Regions from separate parts of the Homo sapiens genome. Here all the other regions are linked to region 1. The links are contacts of gene promoters, found by promoter capture Hi-C in blood cells and fetal thymus (Javierre and others, 2016). All regions are on one chromosome and are shown on one strand. Each heading gives the region's core, a stretch centred on a gene start or on the middle of the fragment in contact. The rest is flanking DNA. Distances are from core to core; before and after follow the strand shown. Region 1 holds the start of AAGAB (alpha and gamma adaptin binding protein). Region 2 overlaps SMAD3-DT (SMAD3 divergent transcript). Region 3 overlaps SMAD3-DT (SMAD3 divergent transcript).

Region 1 (4,279 bases), core at 970-3,469:
TTTAAAAAATTTTTAAAAACAGAAAAAATTGTGTATTAAATGTAATTACAATTATTTCTTTTTAAGAAACTGCAATGGAAAAAAAGACTGGAAAGAAATGTTAGCAGTATTTGTAGTTGGGTAATGAGACTATGGCTATTTTCTTTTCTCTGTATGCTAAATTTTACTTAGTATGCACTAGTTTTACAATGAAACAATTAAAGAAAAAAGAGGAAGGAAGGAAGAAAAGAAGGAAGAAAGGAGGGAAGGGAGAAAATAGGAAGGAGCACTGCTTAAAGGTAAGAAAATGGCCTAATTAGACCAGTTAGTAACCACTTAGTTAAATGCTATAATTAAGCTTTTACCCTAGCAAGGAACTTTCTAAGTGATCACAAATGATAACTAAGTCATATAATATCTGCACTGAAGGGACATCTTACCTAATTCTGTCATTTGACAGGTGTAGCAAAGAAATTATAATTATACAATGCTTTACAGTTTACAAAGTGTGTTCAAAATGTCACATCATCTGTCCTTCAAATACTCCTGAAATAGGCTCATATGCCCCATTTTAAGGATCAGGAAATTGAGGGTTACAGAGATAGTAATGTGCCTTAATAATAATGTCTATGATTTATCAAATGTTTACTATGTGCCAGACTCGGGGATAAGCACAATCTTGCGAAAATTATCCCTATTTTATAGATAGAAGGTGAAGGGGCCGGGCGCGGTGGTGACTCACACCTGTAATCCCAGCACTTTGGGTGGCAAAGGCAGGCAGATCACTTGAGCCCGGGAGTTCCAGACCAGCCTGGGCAACATGGCCAAACCCCGTATGACGGGGGGGGGGGGGGGCAATTAGCCGGGCGTGGTGGCACACACCTGTAGTCCCAGATACTTGGGAGGCTGAGGTAGGGGGATGGCTTGAGCCCAGGAGGCAGAGGTTGCAGTGAGCCGAGATAACGCCACTGCACTACAGCCTGGGCAGCAGAGTGAGACCCTATCTCAAAACAAAAATAAAAAAAAGGAGAGAAAAGAGAAAGTGAAGGGTAGCCAGGCACAGTGGCTCACGCCTGTAATCTCAGCACTTAGGGCGGCCAAGACAGGAGGATCACTTGAAACCACGAGTTGGAGACCAGCCTGAGCAACATAGCAAGACTCTGGCTCTACAAAAAATAAAAAAATTAGCCAGGGTTCGTGGTGTGAGCCTGCAGTCCCAGTTGCTCGGGAGACTGAGGCAGGAGGATCGCTTGAGCCCAGGAGTTCGAGGCTGAAGTGAGCTATGATCGCATCACTGCACTCCAGCCCGGGCGACAGAGCAAGTTCCCGTCTCTTTAAAAAAAAAAAAAGAAAAGAAGGAAGGAATGTAGGTAGGTTAGGTGACTTGCTCGAGATCATACAGCTAAGTCACTGCTCTGATTCTAAGCCATACACTTAAAACAGAAGTCTTGAGTTACCTATAATTCAACTTCACAGAGCCCTTTAGTAGAGTTGGCTTATTATCCAGTCCCATGTTCTCTCTTTTAAGAGTTAGTAAGTCTGACAGCCATTATGAGGGTCTACAAGCAAAAGCACTAGCCCAATCATACCCAAAAACTCATGTTGGCGGAGAGCCCATGCCTCAGATGAAAGGCGTGAATAACTAGAGTGGAGCGGACAAAGCTAACAAGTCTTATAATGTACACATTAAGAAGCAGAATAAACTTCAGAGTAAATACGCAGAATAAACTTCAGAATTCAGAGTAAACACTCTCTCCCGGAGCAGCAAGGATAACAACATCACGATATCAACAATTCCAGCACCTTACACTCCTGTAACCTAGCGCAATTTCCGGAGAGCCTTCAGGTTCATCTCAACGGATCCTCGCAAAAACCTGTGGCCTGGGCTGAGCAGAGCGGGAAATCAGTCTCACTTTACACAGGAAGCCGAAAGGAACGCCGAAGAAGGCCGAGTGGGCAGAAAAGCACGAGATTAAGAGATAGGGGCAGCCACCTGGGGAGACTGGGCGCCTCCACTGACTGGAGGAAGAACGCAGGGCCCGCTGCGGGGACAAGGCCCAGAGAGGCCGTGGTGCTGGGTCCGTCGCCCGCTGAGGCTCAGGGGCCTTGGAGGTCGGCCCAGGCGCCTATCTACTCACGTTGGACCAGCTGGTCTCCTGAGAAGACGGAGGAGCAGCTGGTGACTAACGCACAGGGTACGCCAGCAGCCATAGCTGCGCTCGCGAGCCGGTTCCGTCAGGCAGCCGCTTCCGCCTTGGGCTGCACCACGGCCGCCGGCGCGAGGGGGAGACAGGCCGGAGAGGGCGTTCTCGGAATGACCAGGCTGGCCTGACCCCGCCCCTAGACCCCCTTCCGCTCCCAGCGTGGAACAGGCCAGGTCGCGCGCGGTGTTGCCATGGGGACGAGCGGCTCCGGCTGAAGGTTTCCGTGCTTGGAAACCGCGCCTCCGCGGAGGTAGCCGTTCCCTGACCTAGCCATGGCACAGAACACTGAAAACCACGACCCTGTCGGATCCATCTTAATCCAGGTGGGAAACGGGCTTCCCCCGGCCCTGCCCTGCCCAGCCGCGCCACTTCCGAGCGAGGTCCCGCGCGCCGATTCACCGACGCTCACCCATTTGGTGCGCCGCCCCTAGACTCCCTCCAACTCGCGAGAGGCTCCCAAAAATGCCCACCCAGACCTTCCCCCACGGCCCAGCACACTCCCGGTGACTTACCCTGTAGGTTACGCCCCAGAAGCAGGACTTTCTGCCTCTGGGAAAACTCTAAAACCGTTCACCCGGAACCTTTACTTCAGAAAAATTAACCTCACGCTGAGGCATCATTTTTAAATGTTATATTCTGAAAAATTTGAACCCATGACGTCGGGAGTGGAGGAGAGACAAATCGGACACTCTAGGAGGTGATAAGAAATTTGGAGACAAATTGAAATATGTGAATTGCTTTTCTTAAACACCCCAGTTTTTTAGATCTAAATGTTCCTCATTGGAGAACACACAGAAAAATCAAGATAACTTGGAATGAAAAAATGTGACATTTAAAAACTTAGTGAAAGACCTTTTTAATTTGAGAGGGGAAATGTCAAGAAAGTCTTGTCCAATACAGCTCAATTTGTAATAGTTGCACTCAGATGTTTCTGAAATGATCATGGCATTTTGTTTTCACATTTATGTGAGGTAACTTTAAGATATTTCCACATATATCATCGGTTTTAACTATCACATATATAATAGCTGCATTTGACTAAGTCTTGAAGTCATTTGTCTAAGGTCACTCTGTCAGGACTGTCACTCAGTTGGTCTGAAGTGGGTCTTACTCGTCAAAGGGATCTAATTTTTCTGGCAGAATTTTGATCTCTTACCTCCCATCTAGGAGAGACTTCCCTAAATGTACCTTTTCCCAAATACAAGCCCCTGAACTCACCAATTTCATAGACTTCCCCATTAAGAATCATACCTAATCTTACCTGATCTTTTCTCACCCTCACTTTCACCATCACGCAGCAATGAGTTTAGCCAAACTGCGAAGTCTGAGGGAACGGTCCACAAAAAACTGCCCTAACTTCAACACTCACTACCTGCAAGTTCAGGGGTCCCCAGAACCACCTCACTTCAGACCAGCTGGGTACAAACTTAGGGGCCCCATCACCACCCTCACATTCAATGATTCACTAGAACTATTCGCAGAGCTCAGGGAAGTGCTGTGCTCACATCTCCAATTTTATTATAGTGAAGGCATACAAATTAATCAGCCAAGGAAAGAGATGAATAGGACAGAGTCCAGGAGGGGTACAAACATAGAGCTTTTGGTCATCTTATCCCTGTGGAGTCATTGACGTCATTACCTGCATTACTTCCTCCCAGCCATGATATGTGACAATATGCATAGAATATTGCAACTAGAGAAGCTTATCTGAGGCTTTGATGTCCAGAGTTTTTACTGGGGCTCAATCTCACACTGCCCTTGTGGTTGACCATTAATCTCCAGCCCCTCCTGAATACTTTTAGTTTCCCGCTGCTCCAGAGGTCTGAGCTGATACAGCGTGGATCAAAACACCCATTATAAATCATGTTGATAGACTGTCTGGTGGCCAAAGCCCACAGACAAAGACACTTCTATCAGGCAGGACATCCCAGGCGCCTAGAGATCACCTCCCAGTAGCCAGGAGCGAAGACTGGACCCCTCTTTGGGTAAGGTTAATTCTTTGCTGCACATACCCACTCTTTTTATAGATTCCAAATAATTAGAACAATAATGGAGACTCTTACCTAGGATACAACATTATAGTAATAGATAACTGT
Region 2 (4,279 bases), core at 972-3,471, 240 kb before region 1:
GATTTGGAGAGAATTGTAATGTGGAGAAGAGTTACTCACACTTTGTACCATTTTCTGCAATAAATTGCATGAGATTATGTTCCTGTCTGAAAAACAAACCATAAAAAAGACTTGAACATGCAATCCCACATTGATCGTATTGGAAGAAAATCCATAATCAGAGACAAAAAAAATCAATTAAAAAATAGGAAACTTTTATTGAATAAAATATAGGACAGTCACAAGAGGAAAATAACAGCCTGGAAGAAATAACCAACCAGCGATACATCTAAAATTTATTAATTTTTGCTTTTTTACAAAAAGCTAAAATCAGTGCCCAGATTCCACTCCGTAAGCAACAAAGGAGGTGAACAGACAGTTTACACAGGAAGCACAGATGGTAAATCAAAACATGAAAAAGTACATAGTTCTACCAGAAACAAGAGGAATGCAAACACACAAGCTCTGGGTATCAGTGCATGCTTACCAAACTAGTGAAAAGAAAATGAAATCATCAAACCCTGAATGGGTGGGGCTGTGGGAAACAGGCAGGATGGTATAGAGAGGCTCAGGGCTGACCTGCAGCCAGACAGCTGGATTAAACATGGGCTACACCGTGTGCCACTTCTGAGACCTTGGGCGACTTATCTCTCTATGCCTTGGCTTCCTCACCTGTCAAATGAGGTGTAAATGAGTTGACATATATAAAGTGCTTGGAACAGTGCTTAGCATTTAGTCAGTACTCTATAAGTGCCAGCTATTATTAATATTTGTGTGGGGTGGTGGTTTTCTCTCAACTGTAGTAACAGGGCATGGACTTTGGAGCCAGAAAGATCATTCTTTCAACAAATATTTACCAAATGCCAGATCCAGGTGCAAATCCCAATTCCATTAATTACTAGTAATGTCGCCTTGTGAAAACTGCTTAGAAATCCTGAATCTCAGTTTCCTCCATCAGTAAAATGGAATCATAAAATCTACTACCTAGTGCTGTTTGAAGTGTAATGAGATACTACATATAAATTCCTAGGATGGGACAGGCACGTAGACATCCTTAACACATATTGGATTCTTCACTCCTCCTCCTAGAACGTCAGCTCAGCCCAGGTGTCCAGCCCAGATCTGTGATCATGCAATTTGCCCTCCACTGCCTGCCAGCTCAACCCAGCTAAGATCTTTAGAGCCCCAACCCCTGAAGGCCCATTATGCCATCTACCTCCAACATATGTAAATCAAAAGAATAACATCACCAATTCATAAAATAAATGTTGGTGCTTTTTCTTGTTGTCGTTTGTTTGTTTGTTTTTGAGACAGAGTCTCACTCCATCACCCAGGCTAGAGTGCAGTGGTGCAATCTCGGCGCACTGCAACCTCTTCCTCCTAGGCTCAAGCAATTCTCCTGTCTCAGCCTCCCCAGTAGTTGGGATTATAGGCGGCTGCCACCACACCTGGCTAACTTTTTGTATTTTTAGTAGAGACAGGGTTTCACCATGTTGGCTAGACTGGTCTCGAACACCTGACCTCAAGTGATCCGCGCCTGCCTTGGCCTCCCAAAGTGCTGGGATTATAGGTGTAAACCACCGTGCCTGGCCTAAATGTTGGTGTTTTGATGTGCCATGCAACTTACACATGTGCTGAAATACAGTTGTTTATTTCTGTATTATCTTTCTCCCTCTCGATTACTTCTTTTGGTCTGCCTGTTTGTTGCTGACCTTTTGCAGGTGGCTAAGCCAGCCCAGTGGGTCATCCCTGCCACTACCAAATCACCCCCATGGCATGCAGGCCATACCAACTTCAGATTCCTCCCTCCCCAGGGGAATTTACATTTTAGGTGGTGGGGAACAAGAGCTCCTGGGGGCCAAAAGCCTGTCACAGAATCGGCACCCAGTAAATATTTGTGGAATGAAGGGGTGAGTGGATACATGAAATGTTTCTGAACAGTAGAATTTGAGCTGCCATGGGAGGCAGAGGGGAAGGATAGCAATGCTATTTTTGCTATATTTTAAAATCCCCACTTCTCTTTAATGGAGAGACAAAGTAACCAGAACTCTTCAAATCACACTAGGTAAATTCAAGGCTGATATTTAACAGGTCGAGTGGCACAGATACTGACCAATCAGAATAGACCTGGAGAGCCGTGCTGGACTCAGCACAACCCCTTTGCTTGTGGATAATGGAAGCCCGGGGGTTCTGAAGGCTGGGGCTACAGAGGAGGGGACACTAAGGGCTTGAGGCAGCTGCTAGTCATCAACTGGTATGAAAACATTTCAGTACTCAAACAGCAAGCACAGCAGTGTCACACACATGATAATTAAACGTCAGCTCGGGTTAGGTAGCTGCATGAGAATCAAGAAACTTCTGCCATTTCCCCTCCCTAGGCCCCAATTTCTCGTCTACAAAACAATAAAACTTACTAGTCTTCAGGTTCACTCTAGTTCTGACTACCTGTGATTTTAATATAATAATAAGGAGAACAATTTATAAAAGCCAGCCTGGTATGGCAGAAAAGGCACATGCTCTGAAGCCGGTAGACCCAGTTCAAAGTCCAGCTGTTACTTACTGTGAGGCTCGGGTCCAAATCAATTAACTTCTCGGAACCTCCACTTTTTATTAATTCAACTAACATTTATGGAGCCCTTTTTATGTACCAGGTCCTAAGGACACTTTAGTGAACAAGACCCAGTCCCTTGCCATCATGGAACTCGCTGTTCTACCGAGGACTCTTTGGATGCAAGTGACAGAAACTGGCTCAAGCTAGCTTAGGCAAAACCAGAATGCATCATAAGAATGTAGCAAGCCTGGAGGGGCCCAGGAGGGAAAGCAACCAGACTTTGCTTAGAACCTGGACAGGAAGGCCACCAGCCTCTCTACCACCCTCAGCTACCTGCTGCATTACTCTCTTCTCCCCCTCAACCCCTCAGTTCTGATAAGCCTCAGTTAATATGACATCTCAATTCTAAACTCTCCACAAAGAATCCCAGCACTTGGCTGGGCGCAGTGGCTCATGTCTGTAAGCCCAGCACTTTGGGAGGCTGAGGTGGGTGGATCACCCGAAGTCAGGAGTTTGAGACGAGCCTGACCGACATGGCAAAACCCCATCTCTACTAAAAATACAAAAAGTAGCTGAGTGTGGTGGCTACTCCGCACCCGAGATCCTCCACACACACACTCTGCCTCCCGGGAATCTCTTGAACCCAGGAGGCAGAGGTTGCAGTGAGCCCAGATCGCACCACTGCACTCCAGCCTGGGTGACAGACTGAGACTTCATCTCAAAAAAAAAAAAAAAAAAAAAAAAGAATCCCAGCACTTTGGGAAACCAAGGCGGGTGGATCACTTGAGGTCAGGAGTTCAAGACTGGTCTGGCCAACATGGCAAAACCCTGTCTCTACTAAAAATATAAAAATTAGCAGGGCGTGGTGAGGCACTCCTGTAGGCCCAGCTACTAGGGAGGCTGAGGCCGAAGAATTGCTTGAACCCGGGAGGCAGGGGTTGCAGTGAGCCGAGATCACGCCACTGCACTCCAGCCTGGGTGACAGAGTGAGATTCCATCTCCATAAATAAATAAATTCTCCACAAAGAGAACCTGATTGGCCCAGCTTGAGCCACATGCCCACTCCTAATCTAATCACCTATGACCATAAGGCGGGACCACTAGGTACAAACGTGGCCTCAGGGACTCACCCATGTGATGGGGGAGGGGTCCAAATTCCCAAAAAAGGGAGCTTGTAGATCCTGGTGTCCACTTCACCACCTCATAGGGTGGATGTAAAGATGAAATGAAATTCCATGTAAAGTGACTGGCACATAGCCTGGCAGACATAGCTGGAGCACTGTGCCTCTGTGCCTTGCTAATAATTGGTGCTTGACTAAAACATGTGCTGAACAGGGGAACAATATTATTAACAATGATACCTTTCATGTATCCACCAACTTTATGTCCATTCCATTCGTTACTTCCTCTGTTGCCTGGATCTCGAGCCCCACCTTGCTGAATGGACTTAAAACAAGTTAGTTGGGCACATGTGGCTCCCAGGCTGGATGGCATCCACATGGTGGGTGCCTGATGTGCTGAATGGATGAATGAGTGAATGTTCTTCCACCCAGCCCTCAGTGCTCTGCTGAGGCAGGATGGGTGGCTGGAAAAATGGGGTCTTTGGAATTTGTCTCCTTTTCACCTAGATCTTTGTTAGATCTTTTTCCTCCTTTGTTTAGTAACCAAAGAACCGAGAACTCAGGAAGAGATCAAGGACTGGGTTCAAGTCCTCCCACTCCCCCCACCCCCCATCTAATTTGATGACTA
Region 3 (4,279 bases), core at 553-3,052, 230 kb before region 1:
ATTGTTTAGATCTGAATGGCAGAATAACAAATTATTTTATTTATTTTTTTCTTGGTGATTTCTATTTCTTGAATGTTCACAGAAAATACATATCATTAAATTGTTACTTTTAAGAAAAATGTAAGTTAATTTTTTTTTCATTAAACAATTTTTTTAAAAATGACTTATTACCCAACCAGGCGCAGGAGCACTTTGGGAGGCTGAGGCGGGCAGATCACGAGGTCAGGAGATTGAGACCATCCTGGCTAACATGGTGAAACCCTGTATCTACTACAAATATGAAAATTAGCCGGGCATGGTGGTGGGTGCCTGTAGTCCCAGTCACTCAGGAGGCTGAGGCAGGAGAATGGTGTGAACCCGGGAGGTGGAGCTTGCAGTGAGCTGAGATTGCACCACTGCACTCCAGCCTGGGCGACAGAGCGAAACTCCATCTCAAAATAAATAAATAAATAAATAAATAATGACTTTTACCATTTTGACCCTTTTTAAGTATGCAGTTTTATGACATTAACTACATGTGCATTGTTATGCAACCATCTAGGATGACGTTCTAACCTCATTTCAAGCTTAGCCGCATTCACTATCTTTCCAGGACTAGGGTAGTTTTCACCTTCTGTTTAAAACTTTCTCTGTCTCCTCCCACACCCCCAGCAGAAATGATGGCTCATCTCTCTCCACTCTCCTGTTTTGGGGAGTGTGTCATTATGTGTCACTCATATCATTCTGCAATAGTGGTCAAGTGAGCAGCCCCTAGAGCCTTCATTTCCTGTATTTGATACCTACCATTTGTGTCCTAGCATAGCTGGGGCAAGTCACTTAATCTATCCGTGCCTCAGTTTCTTCAACTTTAAAAATAGACATTTTCAGAATGGCTATTACTACAACATCAAAAAATAGCAGATGCTGGCAAGATTGCAGAGAAAAGTGAACTCTTATGCACTGAAAGTGGGAATGTAAATTAGTTTAGCTGCTTTCAGTGGAAAGCAGTCTGGAGATTTCTCAAATAACTAAAAATAGAACTACCATTTGACCCAGCAATCCCATTTCTAGGTATATTCCCAAAGGAATATAAATCGTTCTATTATAAAGACACATGCACACATATGTTTATCTCGGCAGTATTCACAACAGCAAAGACATGGAATCAACCTAGAGGCCCATCAGTGGTGGACTGAATAAAGAAAATGTGGTACATACACACCATGGAATACTATGCAGCCATAAAAAAGAATGAAATCATGTCGATTATCCTAAGTGAATTAATGCAGGAACAGTAAACCAAATACCACATATTCTCACTTATAAGTAGGAGCTAAACATTGAGTACACAGGGACACAAAGAAGAGAATGATAGACACCAGGGCCTACTTGAGAGTAAAGGGTGGGAGGAGGGTGAGGACTGAAAAACTACCTATCAGGTACCATGCTGATTACTTGGGTGATAAAATTACACCAAACCCCTATGACATGCAATTTACCTATGTAACAAACCTGCACATATATCCCTTGAACCTAAAAGTTGGAAAGGAAAAAATAGACATTATTAGTTTTATTTCACAGATAAGGACACCAAGGCTTACAAAGGTTAAGTTTGCCCAAGATCCCAAAGAGGGTAAGTAATGAAACACTTTTAAAGCAAGTTATCTGTTCCTAGAATGCACATGTTTAATCTGTGCCCCTCTAAATAATAACAACGCTGCCATTTATTGATCACTTATTATGTGGCAGGCTGTCAGCAAGGTATGTGGTGCAATAACCTATTTAATCCTCATAAGTAGCCCCATAAAAATGGTTATTCGTAGCCTTTCTTTTTTTGTTTTTTTTTTTTTTTTTTTTGAGATGGAGTCTCGCTCTGTCGCCTAGGCTGGAGTGTAGTGGCGCGATCTTGGCTCACTGCAACCTTCTCCTCCCAGGTTCAAGTGATTCTCCTGCCTCAGCCTCCTGAGTAGCTGGGATTACAGGCATCCACCACCATGCCGGGCTAATTTTTTTGTATTTTTAGTAGAGACATAGTTTCACCATCCTGGCCAGGCTGGTCTTGAACTCCTGAACTTGTGATCCACCCGCCTCAGCCTCCCAAAGTGCTGGGATTACAGGCATGAGCCACCGCGCCCTGCCCCGTAGCCCATTTTACAGATGCAGAAACTGAGGCCCAGAGAGGTGAAGTCATTTGCCCTAAATTCCTCAGCAGAATCAGAATTTGGTGACTATAAAGAATGCCTTCTTATTCACTACACTATGCAAAAACGGTTTGATTTCTCAAGTCTGTAACTGAGGACTCAATTGATGACTACAGATCGTTCTTATGACAGAGAAGGGCAAGGCTTTAGAGTTCAAAGACAGGGATTCAGCAAGGACTCAAAAGTATGGAGAAGCCTTCACAGAAGAGGCTGCACTGAGCCCTGCAGACTGGCGGTGGCAGACCCATCCTACCTGGGGCTGGCAGTGAAGGTGGGACTCCTCAGAAGCTGTCAGTTCTCAGTTAAGATTAATGAGACAGAAGTGGGATCTGGGCCAGGGCTATTGCCCAGGAGATACCACTGGAAGCCAAAGCCCCGCTAGAGATGACCAGTGTTAAAGATGAGCTCAATTCGGGAGATGCCCAATTAGAGCAGGGAGAACACTAGAGTTCACAGGTGCACTCAGCAGGTGTCTGAGCAGATGGCTGGGTGTGGGAAGGGGAGAGTGTGGGAAGACTCCAAATGGGCCTCTCATGGGGCCTCCTTTCCACAGTTACAGGCTTCTCTCCTGGAAGCCAAAGCCCTCCCCGCCATGGGTGCCCCTCTGTCAGCCTTAATGACAACTCAGGCCTCCAACAGGGCAAGATAACAGGAAGCATTCCAGGGAGCCAAAGGATAAGACATGCGCAGGGTGTGATGTGGAAGAGTGAAAGGTGGAGATAGAGGGGAGGAGACAGGCAGAGCACAGAAAGTGGGAGGGAAAGGGCACTTTGGAAGCAGCTGTTTATTTACAGTTGAGGCCTTCCTGGGAAATCAAGGTCACCTCTTCCTAAAGCCAGTTCTCCAAGCTCTGCTTGTCAAAGCTTTGCTAGTTGTGTTCAGGCTGTGTGCTTGAAAGTAACATTGCTGCCCTTTGGAGGAAATGCTAGTTAACTCAGGCCTTCTGCAGACAAAGCCTGGCCTTCCCACCTGCTGACCCCTTTCTTTTCTGGTGATCACCTGCTGGGTTCCCCCATTATGTCCACTCTACAATGTGCACGTGATGTGTGTGTGTGTGTGTGTGTGTCTGTGCGTGTGTGTGTTTCCAAAGGAAAGAGGGCTGAGCACGAATAACAGCAATACATCTATCATCCTTTAAGCTTTACCCTGATCCAAGATTGCTCTCAACAAATTCTCACAATGATCCCTCAAAGTAGATCTTTTTATTAACTCTTTTTACAGGTACAGAATCGTGGGTCACACAGCTAAGAACTAGCTGAGCTGGAACTTGAGCCCAGGCCTGCCTGATTCCAAGACAATTAGTCAAAAAGTCCTCTCTGGGGGTGCGCTGAGGTGGGAGCTTCATCTTTTCTGGTTTCATCCTGAAACACTACCACGTGTGGTTTACTTCATCATCCCCTTTGAACCATTAACTCTACCCTCTACCCAGCCCTGGAGATGTACAAAAGCTAAAAAAAATAGACAAAACATGGTAACAGGGTATCAACAGAGACTCTGAGGAGCAGTACTTGGTCCAGATTGAGGGGAGGCTTTTAGGGACTATTTCTTGAAGGATGAAACATCTAAGCTGAAACTTGAAGGGTGAGTAGGAACAGACAGGGATAGTGGAAAGGTATTTAGGCAGAGATGAGAGTCTGTGCGAAGGTCTGGAGGCGTGGAATACCAGGGCTTCTTCAGGAAACTCACTGGTCATTTGGTATGGGCGGATCCCTGGGAGTAGCAGAAATGCAGTTGGTGAAGGTAGCAAGTACGTACCTATCCTCCTAAGGAACTTGGACTTCATCACAAGGAGATGACAGGGAGGCACTGAAGGATTTCAGACAGGAGAACAATGAGTTCAGACCCCTGTTTGAGTTGAGCACTGCTCTTTTTACTTTCAGAAAGGCAGCTGTGACATTGTGGACAGCACCTGGAGCCCTGATGTTTAATTCCAAATTGGACCTTAAGCAAGTCACTTCCTCTCTTGGAACTCAGTTTCCTTATTTGTAAAAACTGAAGAGGTTGACCAGATGGCCACTTGGATCATTTCCAGCTCTTATATTCTAAGACAAAAAACTATGACCTCTCCAGGGGAAACAATGAGGATACCAGATCTCTTT

Evidence for each region. The method cuts DNA at HindIII sites, captures the fragments that hold promoters and counts their contacts. A CHiCAGO score of 5 or more calls a contact.
Region 2: a contact is called between a fragment that was not itself captured here and the fragment with the promoter of AAGAB in region 1, in 3 of 17 cell types (non-activated CD4 T cells, total CD8 T cells and activated CD4 T cells). The highest score is 6.0, in non-activated CD4 T cells.
Region 3: a contact is called between a fragment that was not itself captured here and the fragment with the promoter of AAGAB in region 1, in 3 of 17 cell types (total CD8 T cells, activated CD4 T cells and non-activated CD4 T cells). The highest score is 7.0, in total CD8 T cells.

Annotation. Positions count from the first base shown.
Region 1 is chr15:67,252,442-67,256,720 of GRCh38, forward strand. It overlaps AAGAB (alpha and gamma adaptin binding protein), which reads right to left and starts at 2,220. Exons shown (of 10, transcript NM_024666.5): 1 at 2,118-2,220. The coding sequence starts at 2,190. It overlaps IQCH (IQ motif containing H), which reads left to right and starts at 2,345. Exons shown (of 21, transcript NM_001031715.3): 1 at 2,345-2,506. The coding sequence starts at 2,456. RefSeq lists an enhancer at 1,961-2,280. The HindIII fragment of the contact is 3,548 bases long and covers 336-3,883 here.
Region 2 is chr15:67,009,279-67,013,557 of GRCh38, forward strand. All of the region lies in intron 2 of SMAD3-DT (SMAD3 divergent transcript), which reads right to left. Among named protein-coding and RNA genes, the nearest start is that of SMAD3-DT, 53 kb to the right of the region's middle. The HindIII fragment of the contact is 4,855 bases long and covers 1-4,279 here.
Region 3 is chr15:67,027,400-67,031,678 of GRCh38, forward strand. All of the region lies in intron 2 of SMAD3-DT (SMAD3 divergent transcript), which reads right to left. Among named protein-coding and RNA genes, the nearest start is that of SMAD3-DT, 35 kb to the right of the region's middle. RefSeq lists an enhancer at 2,776-3,432. The HindIII fragment of the contact is 2,477 bases long and covers 565-3,041 here.